3 separate regions of the Homo sapiens genome follow, and regions 1 and 3 are each linked to region 2. The links are contacts of gene promoters, found by promoter capture Hi-C in blood cells and fetal thymus (Javierre and others, 2016). All regions are on one chromosome and are shown on one strand. Each heading gives the region's core, a stretch centred on a gene start or on the middle of the fragment in contact. The rest is flanking DNA. Distances are from core to core; before and after follow the strand shown.

The links. Contacts are between HindIII fragments. The CHiCAGO score rates a contact against its expected background, and 5 or more counts as called.
Region 1: a contact is called between a fragment that was not itself captured here and the fragment with the promoter of GJA8 in region 2, in 9 of 17 cell types (endothelial precursors, erythroblasts, naive CD4 T cells and 6 more). The highest score is 7.4, in endothelial precursors.
Region 3: a contact is called between a fragment that was not itself captured here and the fragment with the promoter of GJA8 in region 2, in 1 of 17 cell types (naive CD4 T cells). The highest score is 5.4, in naive CD4 T cells.

Annotation. Positions count from the first base shown.
Region 1 is chr1:147,686,658-147,691,694 of GRCh38, reverse strand. It overlaps the pseudogene RN7SL261P. Among named protein-coding and RNA genes, the nearest start is that of ACP6, 19 kb to the right of the region's middle. The HindIII fragment of the contact is 2,806 bases long and covers 7-2,812 here.
Region 2 is chr1:147,900,782-147,905,558 of GRCh38, reverse strand. It overlaps GJA8 (gap junction protein alpha 8), which reads right to left and starts at 2,764. Exons shown (of 2, transcript NM_005267.5): 1 at 2,698-2,764. The HindIII fragment of the contact is 6,753 bases long and covers 1-3,022 here.
Region 3 is chr1:147,749,396-147,754,450 of GRCh38, reverse strand. The region is part of intron 1 of LOC102723321 (a long non-coding RNA gene); the gene reads right to left. Among named protein-coding and RNA genes, the nearest start is that of GJA5, 8.7 kb to the left of the region's middle. RefSeq lists an enhancer at 681-5,055. The HindIII fragment of the contact is 2,801 bases long and covers 2,049-4,849 here.

The DNA of each region.
Region 1 (5,037 bases), core at 160-2,659, 210 kb after region 2:
AAAGCTTCAGCTAAGGCACATTCTAGAGCTATGTGTTGGACCAAAATGCAAACACTTTCAAAGTAGGTGGTAAAAAGGGGTGGAAGGGTTGGTAACTCTTTTTTTATTATTTTTTTCTTTGAGATGGAGTCTCTCTCTGTCATCAGACTGGAGTGTAGTGGCGTGGTCTCAGCTCCATGCAACCTCCTTCTCCTGGGTTCAAGCGATTCTCCTGCCTCAGCTTCCAAGTAGCTGAGACTACAGGCGCGTGCCACCACACCTGGCTAATTTTTGTATTTTCAGTAGAGACGGGGTTTCACCATGTTGGCCAGGATGGTCTCGATCTCTTGACCCCATGATCTGCCAGCCTCGACCCCCCAAAGTGCTGGGATTACAGGCGTGAGCCACCGTGCCTAGCCCTGGGTTGGTAACTCTTAAATGATTACCCACACTGATGGCGTAAAGGGATGCTGAATTGGAGATCAGGAAGACTTTTGAAAAGGATTTCTTTGGAGGGAAGTATTGGGTTCCAAGAATTCTATCCTTCTCATTATGGGGGAAAAAGGGGAGAGAAGAAGAGAGGAAAGGACAGGAGAGGAGAGGAGAAAGGGGGAGAAAGAGGGTGGGGGTGGGAAGGAGGGATATCTGCTCCTTAAATCAAACCAAAGGACAGAACTTTTATGGAACCATCCGTGGAGCTTAATATGTGTCTTCTAAAGTTTGAGGGACACAGGGGACTTCTGACTGGTTCATGCTTGAGAAATCTAAATCCAGAGTGCTGAGTTATGGGGAAGGGGCTGCATTCCCAGAGTTTTCCTGGACAAACATGTTTCCTATGGACCAGATGTGGCCCATGAGGGAAAGGGAGTTGTGTGGTGTTGCTTAGCCCGTGTTTATAATGACCTCCTGCAGGAGTGAGGAGCCTCAATACAGGAAAGCTGGAGATGAACTGCTGCTGGATACCTAAGGCTGCAGAAAGGTGGGGAAAAGGAAGAGTCTCAGAGCAACCCATGAAAATCCCTTAAAAGAGCAATCAGCTTTAAACATCTGCAAAGGCCAGAGAGCACCAACTTGATCACCTGCACAGCACCAGTCAACTAAGAACTTTGCTAGTACTCCTTCATTGATCTCCCTTCCTAAGCTCCAGATCCTAGAGTGGTCAGAATCAGCTTTAGAAAGATGGTAAAAGGAGAAGAATCATGAGATTATCCCCTAACCCACTTTCAAATTTCAGACTTCTAGCCTGTGGCCAGTACAAACTGGAGGAGAGGAGGAGAAACTTCAAGGTTAAGAATTATCATTCTTACCTATGACTGCCATTTTAATTCCTGATTTCCACCATGTTTTGTGACTTTAAAAATGGCTGAGTACCTTTAATATCTCTGAGGGGCAACCTCTGTTTTTTCCTAGGGTCAAGGAGAACAGCCCCTCAGTGGAGATGTAAAGAGACAGTCAAAAATGAATTTGCTTTAAGATTCCATTCTACCAGTTGTGTTTGTTTCATATAAACATTACAGATAGAAATAGGAAAATGGGTCTTGATAAAAGGAATCGAGGTAGCCAGATCCAAGGTCTATTTGGAAAAGGACACATAGAGAAAAACATCTATCTCTGGGATGGAAATAGTGGAAAATGTAGACGGGAAGCTGATTTAAAGGGCCTCCAGTACCAAACTGAAGGGTCATTTAAATACTGGAGTATAATTTCAGTGTATTTTGGTATTTCAGTATGTTTTGTATTGACATATTTTCAGTACTTGAGATCAGTAAAACTAAGTATTCAATACTTGTAATTATTTATTTCTTTACTTTAATTGACCAGTAAAAATTGTATGTATTTGTGGTATACAACAACATGATGTTTTAATATGTGTATACATTGTGAAATGGATAAATCAAGCTAATTAACCATCATCTAAATATCTATAATCTAAGATACTTTTTTTATGGTGAGAATATTTAAAATCTACTCTCAGCAATTTTCAAATATATAATATATTGTCATTAACTATAGTCAACAAAGTGAACAATATATCTTCTGAACTTACTCCTCCTGTCTACCTGAAATTTTGTGTCATTTGACTAATATCTCCCCAATCCTCCCATCCCTCAGCCTCTGGTAAGTACCACTTTATTCCTTATTTCTGTTAAGTTTGAGGTTTTTGTTTTTTTTTTTTAAAGAGATGGGGTCTCACTATGTTGCCCAGGCTGGAGTGCTTATCCTACCACTGATAAGCATGGGATATTTGACCTGCTCCATTTCTGACCTGGGCTGGTTCACCCCTCCTTAGAAAACCTAGCGGTCCCCTGCTCTCAAAAAGGTCACCTACTACTGATGCTGAACTTAGTGCAGACACCCTATTGGCATAGCACACTACAGCCCAGAACTCCTGGACTTAAGCAATCATCCTGCCTCAGCCCCTGGAGTAGATGGACTACAGGCATGTGCCACTTAACCACTGGCTAAGTTTGAGTTTTTAAATACTCCACATACGAGATTATGTGGTATTTGTCATTCTGTGCCTGACTTATTTCACTTAACAAAATGTCCTCCAAGTTCATCCATGTTGTCATAAATGAGAGGATTTTTTTTATTTTCTAAGGCTGATTAGTATTCCATTATGTACATATAACACATTTTCTTTATCCAGTCATCCTTTGATGGACACTTAGGTTGTTCCATATCTTGAACATTGTGAATAATGCTACAGTGAACATGGGATTGTAGGTGTCCCTTCAACATACAGATTTTATTTCTTTTGGATATAGACCCAGGAGTGGGATTGCAGGATCATATGGTACTGTAGTCCAATTTTTAATTTTTTGAGGAAGCTTCATACTGCTTTCTGTAATGGCTGTACCAATTTACATGCCCACCAACAGTGTACAAGGGTTTCCTTTTCTTCACATCCTCAACACTTATCTTTCATCTTTTTTGATAGTAGTCATTCTAACAAGTGTGATATATCTCATTGTGGTTTTGATTTGCGTTTCCCTGGTGATTAGTGGTTTTTGTTTTTTGTTTTTTGTTTTTTGTTTTGAGACGAGGTCTCGGTCTGTCACCCAGGCTGGAGTGCAGTGGTGTGATCTTGGCTCACTGCAACCTCTGCCTCCTGGGTTCAAGGGATTCTTCTGCTTCAGTCTCCCGAGTAGCTGGGACTACAGGTGCCCGCCACCACACCCAGCTAATTTTTGTATTTTTAGTAGAGACGGGGTTTCACCGTATTGGCCACACTGTTCTCAAGCTCCTGACTTGTGATCCACCCACCTCAGACTCCCAAAGTGTTGGGATTACAGGCGTGAGCCACAACGCCCAGCCTGATTGGTGTTATTGAGCATTTTTTCATATACTATTGGATATCTATATGTCTTCCTTTGAAAAATGTCTATTCAGGTCCCTTGCCCATTTTTTATTTGGGTTATTTGTTTTCTTACTATTGAGTTGTTTGAGTTGCTTTTATATTTTGTATTTTTTTGTATTTTTTTTGCTTTGTATTTGTTGCTTTTATATTTTATATTTTGTACCTCTTATTGGATGTATGGCTTGCAAATATATTCTGTCATTCTATATGTTGTCTCTTCACTCTGTTGATTGTTTCCTTTGCTATGTAGAAGTTTTTTAGTTTGATGTAATTTCATCTGTCTACTTTCACTTTTGTTGCTTTTGCTTTTGGGGTCATATCAAAATAATCTTTGCCCAGACCAATGTCATGGAGATTTTGGTCTGCTGATTTTACAGTCTCAAGTTTTACATTTAAGATTTTAATTCATTTTGAGTTAATTTTGTATAAATATATGGTGTGAGATGAGGGTCTAATTTTATTCTTCTGCATGTGGATATCCAGTTTCCCTAGCACCATTTATTGAAGAAGATATTCTTTCTCCATTTTGTGTTCTTGGCAACTTTGTCAAAAATCAATTGACTATAAATGCATGGATTTATTTTTGAGCTCTCTATTCCATTTCATTGGTCTATGTGTCTGTTTTTATACCAGCACAATACACTTTTGATTCTTCTAGTTTGGTAGTAAATTTTCAAAGCAAGTAGTGTGATGCCTCTGGCTTTGTTCGTTTTGCTCAGAATTGGTTTGGCTATTTGGGGTCTTGGGGTCTTGGGGTCTTTTATGGTTCCATATACATTTTAGGTTTTTTTCCTATTTCTGTGAAAAATGTCATTAAAATTTTAATAGAGATTGCACTGAATCTGTGGATTGCTTTGGGTGGTGTCTTCATCCATTTGTGTTGCTATAAAGGAATACCTGAGGCTGGTAATTTATGAAGAAAAGAGGTTTATTTGGCTCATAGTTCTGCAGGCTGTACAAGAAGCATAGTGATAACATCTGCTTCTGATGAGGGCATCCGGATGCTTTCATTCATGGTTGAAGGTGAAGAGGAGCCAGTGTGTGCAGACATCACATGGCAAGAGAGGAAGCAAGAGAGAGAGGCAGGAGGCGACAGCCTCTTTTTCACAATTAGCTCTTATGGGAACTAACAGAGTGAGAATGCACTCACTGTTTGCCTATAACATGATCTTATATCCCCATAGGGAGGGCATTAATCTATTCCTGAGGGATCTACCCTCATGACCCAAACACCTCCCATTAGGCCCCACCTCCATCTTTGGGGATTAAATTTCAACATGAGATTTGGAGGAGACAAACACTCAAACTCTAGCAGGCAGTATAGAATTAATAATATTAATTCTTCCAATCCATGAACACAGAATATCTTTTCATTTATTTGTGTTTTCTTCTGTTTCTTTCATCAATGTTATATAATTTTCAGTGTACAGGTATTTCACCTCCTTAGTTAAATTTATTCCAAAGTATTTTATCTTTTCTAGCTATTGTAAATGGGATTGTTTTCTTGATTTCTTTTTTTGAATAGTTTGTTATTAGTGTATAGAAACCTGCTGACTTTTGTATGTTGATTTTGTATCCTGCAACTTTACTGAATTTGTTTACTAGTTCTAACAGTTTTTAGTAGTCTTCAAGGTTTTCTTTATATAAGATCATATCACATGTAAACAGAGACAATTTAACTTATTTTTTCCCAATTT
Region 2 (4,777 bases), core at 1,515-4,014:
GCAATTTGAATAACTGTACTTCTATAAGATTTAGCTAATATCTTACTATCTTACTAATATCTTACTGAATCTTAACTATCTTGCTAATACTTACCCTCATTGATATATCAGTTCATTTTTGACAGTGTATTTCACTCACATACCCACATGAATGTGTGTGATGAGCACATGCTCTCAGTCCTGTATGTTAACCAATCTTGTTTTCCCCCCTTTAGTATCAAAAGGTTTTGGAGGGCAGGAACCATTTTGGCCTCATCTTTTGTGAACCATCACAACACAGAACAAAGCCCTTCACAGAGTGGGAGCTCCATAGACAGCAGTGCATGGTTCTAATAGTAATCCTTGTGAAATCTGAAATTCTCAATCCCCAAATTCCTGTAATATGAATACTAGAGACCAAGGAACTTCAGTCCTCTTGCTACAGCTAACAGCAGAAAAATTAAGAACTTGTAAAAAATGGTAAATAACAAAAAGGATAGTAAATTGATCCCCAACCAGCTGCTCTGAGACACAAAACTGCTTATTTTGTATGAGATCAAATATATAAACTGGAAGGCCAACAATTCTTGACAAGAGTGTCATGATACATGTTCATGACACAAGAAGTCGTTCCTGACCACTCATTAGTAATTTTGAAACCAAAGCCAAACAAGCCCATGTCTTTCTATACTCTAAGCCGCCATGCTAAGATTGTATTTTTTTTTAAATGTCTAGTTACAGTTTCTTGTGATAACTGAAGGAGAGAAACTGTAATTTAGGACACAATCTTTCCAACCCCATGATGTTGAAACAGGCCTACTGTGCTGTTAAGGAGAGACACTTTAGAGCTGCGAAGGGAAATGTATTGGTTTCCTGACTTCTAACAGTGAAAATTTAAAGGAAGTCAGATCAGAGAAGCAAAGCGTTCTGTGGGAGCAGGGAGAAATCTGAACCAAAGGAAGACTATTTCTCTTCTCTTTCTCAGAGATAATTCTCTGTTTTATTTTGCTTGTGAAAATTTAGTGAACAGACCTATTACAGATGGAAAATAAATGGATAGAGTTCAAGCCTCCAACCCCAGGGTGTCCATATATGGCCAGGAACATCCCACCAGAAAATGATGGCTAGAGGTAATGATTAAAATAACACCTTATGTTTGGGTATCCTTGATCTAAGTGATACATTTTCACGTATCTTATTTCAGTCCTCATAACAAGCTGTGAACTAGGCCAGTGGTTCTCAGACTTAGATTTCACAGACTAGTATAATAATAACAAACTAGTGTGACCAACATAAGGATACCAACTCCTTATTTTGCCAAACAAGGACATAAAAATAAGAGTTATTGGCTGGGCGTGGTGACTCATGCCTGTAATCCCAGCACTATGGGAGGCCGAGGTGGGAGGATCACTTGAGGTCAGGAGTTCAAGATCAGCCTGGCCAACAGGGTGAAACCCTATCTCTACTAAAAATACAAAAATTAGCTGGGCACGGTGGTGGGGCACCTGTAATCCCAGCTACTTGGGAGGCTGGGGCAGGAGAATTGCTTGAGCCCAGGAGGTGGAGGCTGCAGTGAGCTGAGATCACACCACTGCACTCCAGCCTGGGCAACACAGCGAGACTCTGTCTCAAAAAAAAAAAAAAAGAGTTATTAAATTACTAACTACAACTACAGTCTATTTTCATCATCATTTCATAAAAGGGGATTTTAACACCACAAAACTGGAGAGGACATAACTTCAGAATAAAAGACAAGCCTTTAAATTGAACACACTTAACTTGGTGAAACATTTACTACATTGTTAACTTTATCATTGTCACATTTTGGTCACAGGTTGTGGAAACCTTCATCTTGAGCTAGAACTGACAGATCCCCAGATGGATGTCTGAGAACCAGTGAACTTGGCATTATCAATCCCCATTACCAGACAAAAAGACAGGCTGGGAGGTGAAATGAGTCTCCAAGATGGGGGCTTAGCTAGTGAGGGCAGAGCTAGGCTGTGAGCCCTGGTCTTCTAGATCTAAGCCCATTACAGCATAGCCCTCCTCTGGTTTTGAAGAGGCAGAATAACACATATACATCCATTAATAAGTTATCCAAAGCGTTCAATGGCCACTTACCACTCTGGTTGGTAACCAGGTGGAAAGTGCCTCTTTTCTAGTTTCTAGAACAGCCACTAGCCAGCAGTTCTCATAGATAGACAACAGAACCTGCTCCTAGGAGGAATTTTATGGTCCTTAGCCAGATCCCTTCCTGTGCTCCATTAAATGCTCCAACATGGAAAATGCTGAGCACGAAGCCTCCGCTACCCCCACAGCATTCAGTAATTATGACTATTATTTCTATTGTAGAATTTGAGTGAAAAGGGCACAAAACTTTTTCATAAATATCAAATACTTGGTTTAGGTCCCTGTGGATTCCTGTAGACATGAAAAGAGCTTAAGAAGTCAAATTGTAGTTTGAGTTTGGACATCTCTGTTTCCCCATCCTGCTGATTATTCCAGCATTCCTCTCCCTTCCAAACCTCTGCCAGTTCTTAGGTCAACTTGAAGAGGGTTTTCAGAGTTGGAGTGTAAGTCTAGCCATCCCAGCCCAAGACTGAATCTTATTGGCAACCTTTTTCCTTTTGGAGAAGCCTATATATGGCCCTTAGATTAGGCTGAGAAAGAACAATTGGGGGGAAGGTTACAAACTAATATCACCCAAGGAAAACTTGCCAATACAAGGAGTGTCCCACGGAGAAATATGTGCTCTTTCTCTCTTGGCGCTCAGCAGCAAAATGGCAACTTTCGTCTCTTTCCTTTGCTGCCTAAAAGCCCACCTCCCACTTCTCTACCCCGCCCCTACTGTGCTGCACGACTGAGCAGATATGACTGGATTGGCCCTGATGGGTAGGTTTTACTGTCCAGCAATATTTTAAGCTCCCAGCCAGACAGCTTTTATGAAGGGAGGGATGTTTGGGAAACAATGGGAGTGAGAGAATGGGAGAGCTGTGTTGGGCACTGAGGGGAGGAGGATGGGGAAAGCTGATGTGTGAAAGCTTAGCTGGGGCTTCTGTGCCTCCCAAAGTTTCTTTTAGCAGCAGACTGGGCCTGTACATCAGTAAACCTTTGGCGTCTCTCCAGAGCGCATGAGCCTAGGGGCATTTTCCCAAGGCCTTATCATCAGCTGGGAGAATCTTAATGATGTAGGGACAGTAAGTGGTCAGTTGTGTGAATCCCTCTGCCCTGAGTCACACCAAGAGTGGTTGGTCCTTTCCAAAGGACCATATTTCATTTTTTATTGGTGGTTTGCTCTTGTCTCTCAAAGCCTTCAGCAGAATTGTGGATATTAGAGGCTGGGAAGTGTAGTGGCGGAAGGAAGGATGGGGAGCATGTTGCTAATAGATACAAAAGCACAGCTAGATAGGGGGAATGGGTTCTGGTGGTCTGCAGTGCTGTAGGGTGAATATGGTTAACATTAATTAATTAATTATTTTAATTTTTATATTTTTGTGTGTGTGTGAGACAGAGTCTCGCTCTGCCACCCAGGCTGGAGTGCAATGTCACGATCTTAGCTCACTGCAACCTCTGCCTCTCAGGTTCAAGTTATTCTCCTGCCTCAGCCTCCTGAGTAGCTGGGATAACAGACACCCACAACCACGCCCAGCTAATTTTTTTTTTTCTATTTTTAGTAGAGACGGGGTTTCACCATGTTGGCCAGGCTGGCCTCAGACTCCTGACCTCAGGCGATCTGCCCGCCTTGGCCTCCCCAAATGCTGGGATTACAAGCATGAGCGACCATGCCTGGCCGTTAACTATTTTATTGTATAGTCTCAAAAAGCTAGAGGAGAGGATTTTGATTGTTCCCAACAGAAAGAAATGATAAATGTTTGAGATGCTGAATATGCTAATTATCCTGATTTGATCATTACACATTGTATACATGTATTGAAATATCACTGTGTATCACAAATACGTACAATTATTATGTGTCAACTAAACATAAAAGGAAAGAGCTTTCTAAAAAGATCAAAACAATAAAAAAGAAACACAAACAAACCTTCAGCAGGGTGGTCTCCCTCTTTGAAAGGAGCCTTAACACTCCAAAGAATTCTGGTGCCATTTGTCAAAGTAATAGCCTTTCTCACCACGTTTCACTTATAATTACATATACTTTTGAGTAGCGGAAGTTCAATCAATGTCAGCTAACATTTTTAGACTTTAGTGCCTTCATCTGTTAAATGGGGATATGATGGTTTTGCTCACCAGGAGGCTCTTGGATTAAATTCTAATGTGGCTTAATGAGGAATGATGCTTGGAGGGCATGGACATATGCTCTCTGAGGCCCACTCCCGTCCCATCATCTGGGACTGACTATTGGTAGTATAAAAAATGGTTATTTTGACTACATTTCCAAACCAAAAATAGGGGCATTTTATCCTACAAGTTTATTCGTGAAAACAATGGAGCAAAAATAGTTGAAACTTAGATTGTTTTATGAAATCTGCAATGTATGATTACTAAATTGAAGACAACTTGGAGGGCAAACTAGACAAAAAAAATCTAAGCACTGGCTTCACCACCCCACCCCCCCTTCCTGTCCTTTCTGGTGTCATGGACATATTGCATTTTGATGGGGGCAGTTTGAAGGAGGATGGTACCAATGTTGTGTGAGTCCCCAATTCCATTTTAAATAAAATGGTCACTAGCCCAAAACCTTGTTTACTTTAGATGTCTGATTTCTTTTGAACTCCCAAGTTTGAGGGCCCACACTGACTGGGACAATGCCCTATAGCAAATCCTTCAGTTAAAAATA
Region 3 (5,055 bases), core at 2,200-4,699, 150 kb after region 2:
GGTAGAGTCTATAGTTTTTTACTGTTTCAAGTGGAAAATATTGTCACTCAACAAAGAATTATTGACCAGCTATTTTCAGGTAGGCATTATGTTAGGCTTTAGGAGTATAATTTTAGAGACCAGACATGATTTCTGCCTTTTGGATCTTAGAGTTTGGTGGGGAAGGCACTCTAACACAAATAAACAAATAAAATAATTTTTTTGTGTGTATGTGTGACAGGGCCTCACTGTGTTGCCCAGGCTGGAGTGCAGCGGCGCGATCTTGGCTCACTGCAAACGCCGCCTCCTTGGTTCGAGTGATTCTTGTGCCTTAGCCTCCTGAGTAGCTGGGATTACAGGCATGCAACACCATTTTTAGTAGAGATGGAGTTTTGCCATGTTGGCAAGGCCGGTCTCGAACTCCTGGCCTCAGGTGATACACTTGCCTCAGCCTCCCAAAGTGCTAGGATTACAGGTGTGATTCACCACACCCAGGGCTAAAGAAAATAAATTGTGACAAGTGTCATGAAGGGAACAAGGGGTTAGCAAAGGTGGGCTGAGAGATTCTAGTATTCAGATAGGGTAGCGGAAAGTCTTTTCTGAGGAGGTAACATTGAAGCTGAGATGTGAAAGTTTAGAAGCCAGGCACTGATGCGCAGGGGAGGAACCCAGGTGGGTGAATCTAAATTCCTTCCAGAAAATTCCAGAATACAGCTGTCCCTTATCTCAGTTTAGTCCAACATTTTTGAAAGACAGAATTCAAGCAGTAACTAAAACAGCATGGTTTGGCGCCAACTGTAGCAAAACACACATACCTCTTTCTGCAAAAAATTCAAAGGACAGTAATCTTTTTACTCAAGGAAGCAGAAGGGGCATATGTAAAAGATCTGAATTAAAACAAGAAAATATATGTTAAGTTCTAAAAGCCCTATTTTTTTTTCATGATCAGGAAGACTGTCAGAATCCACCAGTATCAATTCTGATAACACACTTTGGGCCTTCTAAACTAGGCCTATTCTGTGGGGTAGGGCTGGAGAGGGGAGGCAGGGGTGCTCGGGGACAGAAAGGAGTACAGTCCAGGCTTGTTGGAAGAAGACTATATCCAAAGGGGCTGGGAAAGAGCCAGCAGGGCATGGCCCAGAGTAGCCTTAGCATCAGGGAAGTCAAAGCAGCAAAACATCAAGTACACAGAGAGGTGGGGAATGGGGAGGGTGGAGGAGCACATAGCAGGGAAGCCAAGCCGTGGAAGTTGTGTAAGACACCAGACAGGCAGGCAGGCACTGCTGGGGACATGTCTCAGCTGGCAGTAGGGCCCCAGACCCTGATCTGGATTTGGAGCTGGACTTCCAGACTCAGGGAAGGGAGTCTGACATGGGCAGAGCGGAACTTCACCCTAGTAGCTGGGTTACTAAGCAAGGCACTAGGACAGAGTCTTGGATAGAGTACAAGCAGGCTCTTGTACTCTTGTGGGGCCCATTATCAGAATTACAGAGCTGCAGATGAATAAACTGAGTCAAGCTCTTCATGGCAATATATATGATGTTTATAGATACAGTACCTTCAAAGCCTTAAACCAAAGGAATGACAACCATGAGACTTCTAAGCACCTCATCAAGCCGGCGGGTGGGGAGATGATTTGGGGGTTGGAGGCTAATGCTTTTCTTTATCTATCTCCACCTTCAGCTAAGGGCAGCACAGCCCCGGGGGAGGCCATCGCTTGGCAGCAAGACTCAAGCCCCCTCAGTCCCTTCAACCTGACAGAATTTTCCATTACCCTGATTCAAGGCCCTTATGGGACTGCGTGCATGTACTTGCTAACAAAGGGTTTCTCAGAGAAAGTGAGAACTAAGCAGGAACCTTTCAGGAGTGTTCATCGCCCTGGGCTCTGCAGCCTGGCCAAGGCTAAATCCCCTCCAGCAGCAGCTGCTGTTCAGCTAACGGGGCAGGATAGAAAGTTATTTTATACCTTCTTGGGACTTGTCTTTAAATGTGATAAAATATAACCTGGAGGGGATTACATTTACAAAGGTTTGAGGTAAAATTCCACATTTGAAACCATTGTAAAAGCTTGTGCAGGGTGTAGTTGGCTGGGGAAAAGTCAATTTAAAAACCCTCACATATTTTAATAGTAATAATGAAATACACCTTCAATTATTAAGTGCTTGCTGTTTTCTAGGCATTGTGCTAAGAGATTTTATGAATTGCTATTTCATCCTTACAGTAATCCTTCAAGGTTATTTGACCCCATTTTACAGATAAGGAAACAGACTTAGATTCAGTAACTTGCACAGCTACTAGGCAGTAGGATTGGGATTTAAACCTGCCTTATACTTCTCTTAAGTGCTCATCACATATTCTTAAGTAAAAAGGCAAGACACAAAATTGTATGTGTAGCATGATTACGATGTGCAAAAATAGGCATTTATGCTTGGCGTGGTACTGCGCATCTATAGTCCCAGTTATTTGGGAAGCTGAGGTGGGAGGATCACTTGAGCCCAGGAGTCCCAGGGCAGCCTGGACAACATAGCAAGACCCCTATCTCAAAAAAAAAGGCATTTATAAGAGCAAAGACTTGAGGGCAACAAACAAAAATGAAAGCAATTTGGTGGATTGGTGGGGGTGCTTTAATTCTCTTAATTTTGTAAACTATTTTAATGTAATGATGCTATTTTTGAAATTAACACACTTAAAATATATTTATATTCAACTTTTGGGCTAAATTTGGTGTTCCCCTGGGGTGGCTGCCAGGAGCTGCCTTTCAGTTTCTGCAATCCTCATGCCTGGGAAAATTTTTTTGTTTGGGCTCAGACTGTCACCCTTAAATGGGATATGGTTAGCAGGAGGTGCCCACCCCAGGGTTCTGGCAGTCAACTGTGTGACAGCGGATGGCCCACCAGCTGTGGCCTCTGGGAATGGCAGAGCACTAGAGTGAATTGGGAGGCAAGGCTTCCCCCATGAACCCTTCTTACACATCCCAGTGTGGTGACCGCCCACTGCACACCATGTCAGGGCCACGGGCAGGCACCGTTTGGGAGGATATCTGTAAGAGAGAATCCTGCCCTCAACCACTCGGGACCTTGTAGAGGAGGGGAACAATGCCATATTACCAGGGAGCAGTGCTCAGTGTGGTAAGAGGAAAAAATGTCACTGAAGGTCTTCAGAGGAACGGGAGAACCTGGGGAGGAGGAAGAGCTCAGGAAGGGCTTCATAGAGTTGGTGGCACTTGAAATTGCCTTTGAAAGAGGAATAAGATTTTCTATGTCAGAGGAGAAGACTTCCCGGTGGGAGAAAATGACACAAATTAAAACAAACAAACAAACACCAGCAACAGAACCGATAAGGAACTGATGTGTTCCAGGAGCTGGGAGGAGCCCTGAGGGAGTGAGGCCAAGAGGTGGGATGCGCAGTGGGGGATGCTGGACACTTTCACTCTGTAAGTGGTAACGACCTGTTGAGTTTCTTTGTGTGTTGGGAGTGGGATGATCAGGGCTACACTTCAGAGTTACACTTCAGAGTTGCAGCAGGTGAGACAGGGAAGACTGGTGGGGCTGGGAGAGGGGTCAGCATGAGCTAGGAACACAGGCAGTAGGACTTGGTGACTGGTCAGGTATGGGGTGGGGGATGGTGGTAGGAAGAAGTCAGGAATGACTAAGAGGCTTTAGGTCTTAGTCATTCAACAAAATTTATTCCATTCACTTATTTAACAAACGTAAGATTCAGGCCTGCTGTATGCCTCATGCAGCACCAGGACCTGGGGATTCAGAGAGGAAAACTGCGGTCAGACAATTATTATGCAGTAGAGGGATCATGGGTGTGTTAGACCCTTCTCTGCTTTACTACAGATCCTCTCCGCCTCACCTGCCTCTTCTTCCAGCTGTCTGGAAACCATATGGATCAATTTCACATGGGTGCAGCTGACTGCATCTGACTTCCCCTAGGATTTCCCTAAGGAAGCAGTGGTAGAACCCTGCTCAGTACTTTCCCCAACACATGGGCAACCTTAAAGTGTGGGCCTAATGCAACACATGGCAAACCTCTGTTCAGTGGGTTTGTCTCCACCCCTGTCCCACTCCCCTGGTGGTTCTGAGATCTGGATGATAGGGCTACTCAAGGGTGTGGTCCTGTGGATTGAGCAGCCAGTGACACTTAGCAGTGTCCTGCTTGATGACACATCTTCCTATTGAGTCTGTCTCCTTACCTGTCTTTCTCACCTCATTCCCTATTGTTGCCCCTAAGACTATACACTCTATTGATGTGTTAGCACATCAGCCTTTGCCTCAGGCCTGCTTCCTGGAGAATCCAGACTGAGCCAATGATTCCGGTTTGAAATGTAGCTTTCCTCATTCTACAATAGTATGACATTCAGACCAAGCCTGGAGCATCAAAGTTAGTAGGTATCCTTCACTGCTAGAACAAGTATATGTGTGTAGGGAAAAACATTCTGACATTTGATAGTATTCTTGCCAGCATTTATAGGGATTTTTAAAAATTCCTGTGGTTTCCTGTGTGTGAGTCTTGTCTACCTGGATAGACCTTTCCCTCCAGACCTTGTGCCTTGCAACATTTAGGACAACGTTAGGCAGGCAAGAGATGCTGGAAAACATCTGCCATGTTGAACTGAAGTTGTTCTTTCTTATTTTTCTGGATTCTACCTTGTCTTTTGCTGATTCACTTTATCTACAAACTAGTTTCCAAAAGGGCATTTTCTTCCTCTCCTTGTGCTGCCTGTGCATGGTGAAATACAGCACCAATGGAAACTTACACTGAGCATGAAAGCATGACCACTTTCCAACAGACACAACGGTTTATCCAAAGAGCTCTCCTCTCCAGACAGTGGCTCTGAAGGCCCTGCTTGGGAAATATCCAAGCTTGTTGCTACTATCATGTCCCTATGTCCTCCTATGTTTCCAAGACATCCTGCCTCCCATCCCCCACCACCACTGACAAACTGTGACAGCCCCCCAGTTTTATTTGAATTTTCTATCAGAAAGGAAATTAAAATGTGGAAAGAAACAGTTAATCAAGGACTTCCCTGTCACTAACTTGTCTGTCTTCTTCCCTGCCCCCTAAAATAGT